2 separate regions of the Homo sapiens genome follow, and region 1 is linked to region 2. Evidence: promoter capture Hi-C in human tissues and cell types (Jung and others, 2019). All regions are on one chromosome and are shown on one strand. The core of a region is centred on a gene start or on the middle of the fragment in contact, and the rest is flanking DNA. Distances in the headings are between cores, read along the strand shown.

What was found. Contacts are between HindIII fragments. The study calls those that stand out against the background at their distance.
Region 1: a contact is called between a fragment that was not itself captured here and the fragment with the promoter of PDE3A in region 2, in 2 of the 25 tissues and cell types used here (H1 embryonic stem cells and heart right ventricle).

What each region holds. Positions count from the first base shown.
Region 1 is chr12:20,442,602-20,446,935 of GRCh38, reverse strand. The region is part of intron 1 of PDE3A (phosphodiesterase 3A); the gene reads right to left. Among named protein-coding and RNA genes, the nearest start is that of PDE3A-AS1, 75 kb to the right of the region's middle. The HindIII fragment of the contact is 3,350 bases long and covers 880-4,229 here.
Region 2 is chr12:20,365,408-20,369,841 of GRCh38, reverse strand. It overlaps PDE3A (phosphodiesterase 3A), which reads right to left and starts at 1,305. Exons shown (of 16, transcript NM_000921.5): 1 at 1-1,305. The coding sequence starts at 557. It overlaps PDE3A-AS1 (PDE3A antisense RNA 1), which reads left to right. Exons shown (of 2, transcript NR_186033.1): 1 at 1. RefSeq lists a silencer at 1-267. The HindIII fragment of the contact is 7,833 bases long and covers 1-3,344 here.

The DNA.
Region 1 (4,334 bases), core at 1,305-3,804, 76 kb before region 2:
TGAGATTTACGCTTGCTGTTTTTTCTCCTTGGACTGCAGTTCCCTCAGCCATCCAGGTGGTTCTCATTTCCTTGCTTCTTTCAGAGAAATAAGCAATCGCCCCTTTATCAGTTTGTGTCTCCCTGATCAACCAATATAAGATAACATACATCTCCCATAACTACCTATAGATAACACTCGGTCTGCTTTTCTTCACGGCATTTATTCCTCCAAATACATTACTAGCTGTTAGAATGAAATTTTAAATGAATAGAAGATTTACCTATTGTTAACTGGAATTCTAAATGCTTAGGGTAGAGTCTGGCACATAGTAGGCAGAGAACTAATGGTCCCTAAAAAGTACTGACAAATCAAGAAGAGAATAAGATGATGTATACCTGGCATCCAGGACACAAACTCCAGTGGTAACAAGAACGCTGTCCCCACTACTCACCAACCTTGTTCCCGACCTTCCTTGAACGTGAGATTACCTCTAAGGATCAGCCTTCTCGCCAACTGTTGGCTTAGATACCATGAAATCTAACACATAATGAAGCTCGAGGAAAGCAGAAAAATAATGTTTTCCCTCACCCCATCTCAAAACACTCAACACATGGTTCCTCACTCAGTAGGCACTCAATAATACATGACCGTCTGAAAGCATGACCATTTTTATTTTACTAGAGAGGGAAGCAGAATGAGACAGATGACATTTTCTCACGACTTAAGCTTATACATTTGGAAGGAAGAAAGCAGTTGTAGTAAGAGAGGCAGGCTCTTCAAATTCTCACAAAACACAAATTCCTAGTTTTGCTTTGGATGGGAAGGGCTTCATTTCAGGCACGTTGGGGGAGAAAGGGCGAAGGGAAAAATGCTCAGACTATGCTATTTTTAAGTTATTTGGTAAGAATGGCTATTTTTCCCTCTGATATTCTTGAACCACCCAAATGTCATGTTTCCATGCACTGCTGTCTGGATGCTATCAAAGGCACGGCTCTGAGGTGAAAGGAAGGAGTCAGTCATATGCTCATCTTCTCACATGCTGCTACCACTGCTGATTTTTTTTAAAAGCTTTGTGACCTAGAAAGGAGATGTACGGTATGAATGATGCACAGACTGCAGAGAGCATAGGGCGTCATCAGTCTATTTATACCTCCAGGAAGGAAAAAATGAGTACAGGGCAATGGCTCTATATTCCAAGTACTGAGTATGCAAAGATTATCTGGAAGAAACAATAAACAACACAGTGAGGGCGGCATTTATGTCATCAGTGAGAAAGAAAAGGTGAGGCCATATTCCCATGTTCCTTGATCGTTCCAAAATTTTGTTAACTTTTAAAGAATTTCAAGTTGATCCCCTGATATTTCCCATGACTGTATAAAGCATCCCAAATCTGAGTTAAAGACACTGCCACCCATATTTTAATACAGCTTCACCTCATATGTGCATATGTATTTACATTTAGCAATAATCGATATCCATTTGGCTATACTGTAAGTCCCGAGGGAAAGTTTTTCAGGGTTAAGAAAGTATTTGGAAAAGCCTTACAGTTAATTATGCTACTTAACTCCAAAAAGGGGGAAAATGAGATTTACACAGATTTATACAATATGATAGAAAAAAAAATTTTCTCAAGGTGTGTAGTTCATTTCCCTTAAGATGTGAAATCTTTCCAGGACAAAGCAGGGAAAAAGCACCCAGGCCCAGCTGCTAACAGTTATTCCTGGATCACTAGTAAACTTAATGCCAGGCTTCACCTCTCGACTTCCATTTGTTTCTACTGTAAGCAGTATAACATGGAGCCTAACAGAAATGATGTTCTGAAACGTACCCATTTTGCTCTTTTGCAACCCGTTTACTTGTGCAATTACTGCCAGTTTCACTTGCTTTGGAGTTATTTTACTAGCAGTGGCGATGGATTTGATGACAGCTGGCCACAGTATGAGGTGTTTTCTAAGGCTTGACATTAGGTATTTCCTAGTGCAAAATTTACTGATCCCGCGTAGGCTCCAACCTAGAGCCAGGATTCCTTAATGGAACACAAACTGATTTACTTTGAATATACTCAAGCTTCACAGCAAACACTTCCTGTTTCTATTACTGTCCAAGTCTTCTTACCATGCCTGAGGCAGACAATTTAAGGCTTGATTCCTCACCCTTTCCCTTCATCTGCTGAAATCCCATTTAGTTTTAGTGCACCAGGCATGCACTGGTATTTCATCCTATGCATTCCTTCCACAGCCTGACCTATAAAGGGCTGACACTGAGTCCTGGCTTGTTCAGATCAGAGAGAATTAACACTTTTATTTCTTTAATTTCAAAAGCTTCTGAGGTAACTTTTGAGCTCGTAAATGTCAATAATTTGTTGTCAAGACAATTATATTCTTAACCCAGCTGCTACATATAGGGAACATAGAGACTGACAGAAAGTCAGTGAATTTAGAATTAAAACAGTAAGTTTATCTGATTGACTATGCTTCTCAAAATGTAAATGGATGATACAAATTAATACAACCAATTCATTTTATTTGGTTTGGTTTTGGTTTTTGAATGGGTTTATGGGTTTAAGAGACATTGCTCTCTGTTGTTTATGTGTATTCAGTGTCAGAAAGGAAAAGTGAGCAGTGTGAAGTCTTATTAGATGGAAGACAGGTCTAAGGCACATGGAAAACTGATATTCGTGATGGACAGGTCAGGAGCTAGAGAGCAGGGATAAAGAAAGCAGAAAAGAAAAGAAAACTCAGCTACAGGTACTCTGTAAGTGAAACTAACAGGTACTTGATAAATATTGGCTGGTTGATTACACAACGGAGGGGAAAGGAATGGCATGCTGTATCATCTTTAAAGACTCCTCTACATGTGCCACACTACTATGAATAGGAAATCAATTTTCCTGTGCTCAATAATTGTAGAGCTCTCTTGTCTCTTAACTTCCTGCTATATAAACCAGTCCTGCAAGGTCCTCCCTCCTTCTTTTCCTTCTCTCATATTGCCACAGGGGAGCTCACCGAAGGAGTCTGCCTTTAAATGGAGATAAACCTAGCACAAACAAAATCAGTTGTGCTTTCAATAGGTTATTGAAGTACAAACATTCAGAGGGAGTTTTAAACACTTTGGCAAATCTTCTGAGAGGCAGAGTAATGATGTTCCATAAGAAAATTTGCTAAACGAAAATAAGTAGAATAATACCTATTTCTCTTTTCAAAAAGAAATTTCATTTTCATGGAAGTAGGGTTTTTTATGATTTCCATACTTAATCCTTAATTTATGCTAATGCCTCTGTTTATAATTTTCAACATAATTACTGTGGGGCAAAAGAAAGCAAAGGGACCTATACAGACATATTTAATGTACACACAGCAAACGAAAAGAGTTAGTCTTATGCAATTTTTAAAAAGCTAGTCAAAAAAATGACTAGTCAAATTTTTTGAAGGAAACAGATATTTATTTTCGATTTCCTAATTTCATGTCTGTATCCTCAGTCACACTGACAGTCATCATTCATTCTAAAAAAAAATGAGGTATTACCCAAATAGCTTATGTCAGCATTAATTGTTAAATAAGTACATTTGTAATTCCTCCTGTCAGCCATATCCCCTTACGTATCTATGCAGATAGTCAAGCTCCTATATCCAAGTTAGGAGTTAGGAATACAGTGGTACAGTTTATCAATATCCATAGATAGGACAGAGTAAGATTTCCTCTCACTAAACATTTATTTTAAATCTCCCTCAAATCAATTTCTATATAATTTCTTGCAAAAAGAAATAAAAACCAGCAGTTACTGCTGACAAATTAAACTAGGGGCAAATACACATTAAATATATACATTTATATATTTACATTTGTATATGTATATTTATATAACATTTATATACTTACACCTATACAGGAGCATTTCATTGTAGAATTTTGACTCATTCAAACTCTGTTCACTACCATTAACTGATAAATTATTTATGAAAGATGATCATGACCTCCATTAAAAAAAAGGATCCCTCAAAGCATGATATATTTCTAAGAATAATGCAACCTATTTTCTGTGACACTGCTTTGTTCTTCAACACTGTCAGTGGATGAACGATATAGTTTTAACACATTTTTGTGCCATGGCCATGAAATGCTTACATTTATTGTGTTAAGTTTAAGCATATGCTTCAATATTCAGTTTTCAACTGAGATAATGATTTTAAAAGATACAATCTCACCTCTTTAGGATTGTTTTAGTTTTCACTTCCAAACTGCTACATTTGACTCGACACTATTACAAACTACTAGTGAACATAAATTTCAAAAGAATTGTCTTACAATTTCAGATCTTTAACCCATTGCAGTGGTGTGAACTAAGTATTTCC
Region 2 (4,434 bases), core at 56-2,555:
AGTAAGTGATCCTCCCCGACGCCCAGCCCAATCTGGACGAGCGCTTCCCCCCCGCAGCAGGCGGCCAGCAGCGCGACAGCCAGAGGCAGGCGCACCCCGGCGCGCAGGAGGTACAAGCCCATCCAGAAGAAGGCACACAGGAGACTGAAGAGCAGCGCCGAGGGCTGCAGCCAGGGGCTGAGCCGCGCACCGCCCCCGGGAGCACCTCCCCGAGGCCCCGGGAAGACGCCCCCTTCTGCTCCCGGGGCTGCTTCCTCCTCCTCCGCCGCCGCCGCCTCCTTACACTGCTCCAGGTCACAGCCGACCTCCCCGCGGACCAGCCTCACCAGCAGCGCCAGCAGAAAGGACAGGGAGCCCGCGCACAGCGCGGAGGAAAGTTTCCGAGAGCTCCGGAGCGGCTGCAGCACCAGGTCTCCCCAGCAGCCACGGCAGCCCGAGTCCCGCGGCGATGCGGGGTCCGCACGATGGTGGCAGTCCCGGCCCGCCGTGGGGGCTTGACTCACCCCACTGTGGACGGGCTTGTCCCTGACTCGTGCAGCGTCGCCGGGCACTGCCATGGTATAGGGTGCCCTCTTCACTGAATTCCCAGTGGCCCCCCGACGCCCCCGCCCCGACCCACGCGCGCGCGCGCACACACACACACACACACACGCACGCACGCTCTTCCCAATTCCACCCTCGGAATCCTTCTTCTCCCCAGGCCCACAATCCACTGAAAGTTTCAGCTTTCGAATAACTCCTGGAGAATGCTAGATGCTCCAATGAGACTTCTTCAAGTTAAAGGCTAGCACGCTCAAGTTGAAAACAAGCACGGGCAGAAACGATCAGGATTCCCCTTTTCTCTCTTTGAATATCTTTCACAGATTCTCTGCTCCACCCCCACCCCCGACTTATATCCTCCGGGGTCTCTTCCTACTTCAGGATTTCAAAAATTGCCCAATGCATCCCGCGCGCAGGAGCCGCTGACGCTGGAGGAGCCGGGGGCGCAGGGCGGGCTCCGGGCCATTCCGAGGCGCAGCTCGGCGCTGCGCTGCGCTGCAGCGCGCCGGGCCCGCGGCAGATGGAGGTCTCCCTTCTCCTCCTTCCTGCAGCTCTTTTTCTATCACTCTTTCTTTCTCCTCGGCCGATTCTCCCCGGCACGGCCCCAGGACGCGAATCGCCATTCCCTGGGGCAGAAAGCAAAGCCTCCCCCGCCTCTGTCAATCCAATTCATGGCAAAGGATGGAAAAAAAAAAATGGACAAGGGGCTGAGAAATAAGAAGTTGCTAAGTCCCGTCGGAGAGAGAGCCAGACCGAGAGACTAGCGGCAGCCGCAGAAGGGAGGGAGGGAGAAGGAGCGAGTAAGAGAGGAAGGGAGGGTGAGAAGAAAGGGAGGGTGAGAAGGGAGAAGGAGATTTGCTTTTTTTTTCCCTCCCCACTTCTATTTGATGCAAGGTTGGTGGTGATTTGCAGTTTTGCAAAGGGGAAACGAGTGGCGACGACTGCTTAAAATTGTATAAAACTGGCAACTGGAGTGATCGACAATTCCGCTTTCTTTCTTTAAGGCAACTCCCTAGGAAAGCTTTCTCAGCCGAGCTCCCGCCCCCTCCTGCGGAGGAGGCGCTACCCTCAGCTCGATTGCTCCTTTGCTGGGAAAGCGGCCGGTTCACCCTACAGGCTGGAGCAGGGGCTGCTGAGGCTGATCCACCGCGCAGCCCACCGCAGCCCCGGGGTGTGGGGGGCTGCGGCTAGCCCTGAGGCTGAGCTCCCTAGAACGTTGGAAGGAAAAAAAAAAAAAAAAGATTGTGTTTGCCTACTTGGCAGATGAGAGCCAACATACTTTCTACTGTCCCTGAAAATGACAGCCACTTCTACTGTCTGATTCAAAGATGTTCCCAAGTCAGGTACAACAGCAGTCCAATTTCAGGTGACAGTGTCATCCTTTGGTCGCTCCTGCTGGAAGGTCTGCTTTATGAGAACCCAAGCCTGGCCTGTTGGTTCAAATGATGGAAGAATCAGCCTTACCTAGACCACAATAGTATAAAAAGAAAGGAAGGAGAGGCAGCAGTCATTTAAATCCAGTGCATGAGTATTACACAATAGTTTTTGACTGTGGAAAGTAAAATTACATTGAGATTAAGTGACCGTATCCTCAAAAAAGGTTAACAAAGTTTAAAAGCCCAGATAGTTCATCAAAAAATAAAGAAAAATCTCAAGGGAGAGGTGAGGATAGGTGGGTTAACACTAGGAGAGATCTTAGAAGACTGTCTATGGCTGCAAAATACTACATCTTCGAGCAAAGCATATGAAAAAAATCAGGACCTTAGTTATTAATGAGTAAAGGTTCGTGTACTGCAGCAGTGTGATATTTGAGAAACTAAAAGAAAATTTTCAAGCTAACCTTTTTTTGGCAGATTATGAAAAAGAATTCAGTATCTGTTCAATGGACTTAAACTCTATTGATGTTCCCTGGGATCTAGTTGTCTTTTTAATATGATACTCCACTTTTAACATGGCTATCTTAGATGTCATTTGCCCTCACTAATAATAATCTTAATAATCCAATTTTGTCTTAATTATCTTGACATTCCAGGTTAAAGTGTATTTACAGCCTAGAGCATTTAGATAATTGATTCAATATGCCACTGTATTTTGTATGTAGACATGAAGCAATAAAAAAAGCCAAAAGGAGATCCTTGAGATAAAATTAATTTATGGGGACAGGGGGAGAAGATGACTTAAGTTTTAAACAGCTTCATGGGAAGCAGCCTGTTCTAGTAGAAGGCAGATATACTATAAAGGTATAGCTTCTCTCTGTCAGATGTCCAGAATTGTGCTACCACACAGGAGTATGAGTTGGGCAGCTAGTCAATGGCAGTGGGCACCATCTGTTTAATAATTAAGGAAACAGGAGCAGCAATGTCTTTGCCAAAGACAAATGAGCCCCCTAGCACGCACACATACTTTCATGAGTTTCCTTTTTAGACATATGATTCATATGCCAGATCCTACCTGGGACACATCGGAGTGAAAAACCTTGATTGGAAAATCATTCATATCTGTTGGCATCAAAAATAACATATTAAAATAATAAACCAAAAATCTGGCATATATCAAGGTTAAAAAGAAAAGCATAGTAAGGGAAATTTTAGAATATTTCAATTTTATCTGTCCCCTACCCCCACAATTATCTCAGTTCTTTAGAAAATTTAATATAATATTATCATAAAAACTGAACACTTAAGGTATGGGAAGCAGATGTTTTTTAAAAGTTGTAACAGGAAAAAATGGCATTTGCTAATGGCAGCAAAACAAGAATATTCTAAATCCATGTGTTAATAACATCCTGGAACTCTTCAATAAAATAAGGAGGCAATGTCCTGGCATCCAGGTTTCTTTAACAAATCATAATCAAAAAGTTATTTGTCCCATCAAAAGGAAAGAAGGTAGATTTTTCTCCCCATACCATCCAGAACCCAGAGGCAAGTGAACAAAGACAACAAAATGCTAATGTTAGAGAGATGCAGAAACCTGCAGGGCTATACTAACTGAAAGAAGCGACTAATAATGTACCTTTAACAGAGTATATTAAATGAAATAAGCTGCAATACATAAACTGGATAGGGAGCAATCACATATAAACACTGCCTCTTTTCTACAGATAGTGGTGAGTCCTAGTTCAAGAAAGTGACAACACAGCCAAAGAATAAGGAAAATGTTGTACGTGCAGAAAAATAGTAGAGCATGGACAACAGAAATAAAAATTTAAGTTTTACTTGATAAATCTTCCACTTAGTCAAATCTAGCAAACATGTTTTTACAGTTTTTTGGGAAAAGGATCTAACCCTTCACATTTGAGCTTTATTAAATATAGTTAAGCGTCAGGGGATTCTATTGTAAAATTCAGTAAGTTTACGTTCCGTAGTATGGGTTCAATCATTCTCTGCTACCTATCTGATTATTATATATTTATATCTAATAGGTACCTAAAACATAAGGTATCCAAAACAAAATTCTTAACTTACAATTCCCTTCCTACCTATCCCCTACCCACCCAAACTATATTTTCTCAATCTTGTTACATCCCAGTAAAGAACATAACCATCTACCTAGTTGCTCAGGCCCCAGAAGAGGGAACGGGTCTTGATTCTTTCCTTTGTTTATCTTGTTTTACTTTTAGTCGATTAGGAAATCCACTTGATCCTGTCTCTAAAATATATTCTAAATCCATTTACTTTTCACTGTCCCTCTTATAATAACCTGCCAAAGACCCATCATCTTCCTTGGCCAGGACAAGTGCAGTAACTAACTGATCTTGCCCTACTTATAATTCATTTTCTATATAGCAGAGTAACACTTTAAAAATATAAATTGAATTATGTCCCTCCCCTATTTAAAACTACCCAAAGGCTACCCATCGTACTTGCAGAATGCAGTCCTCATCACAGTCCTCAT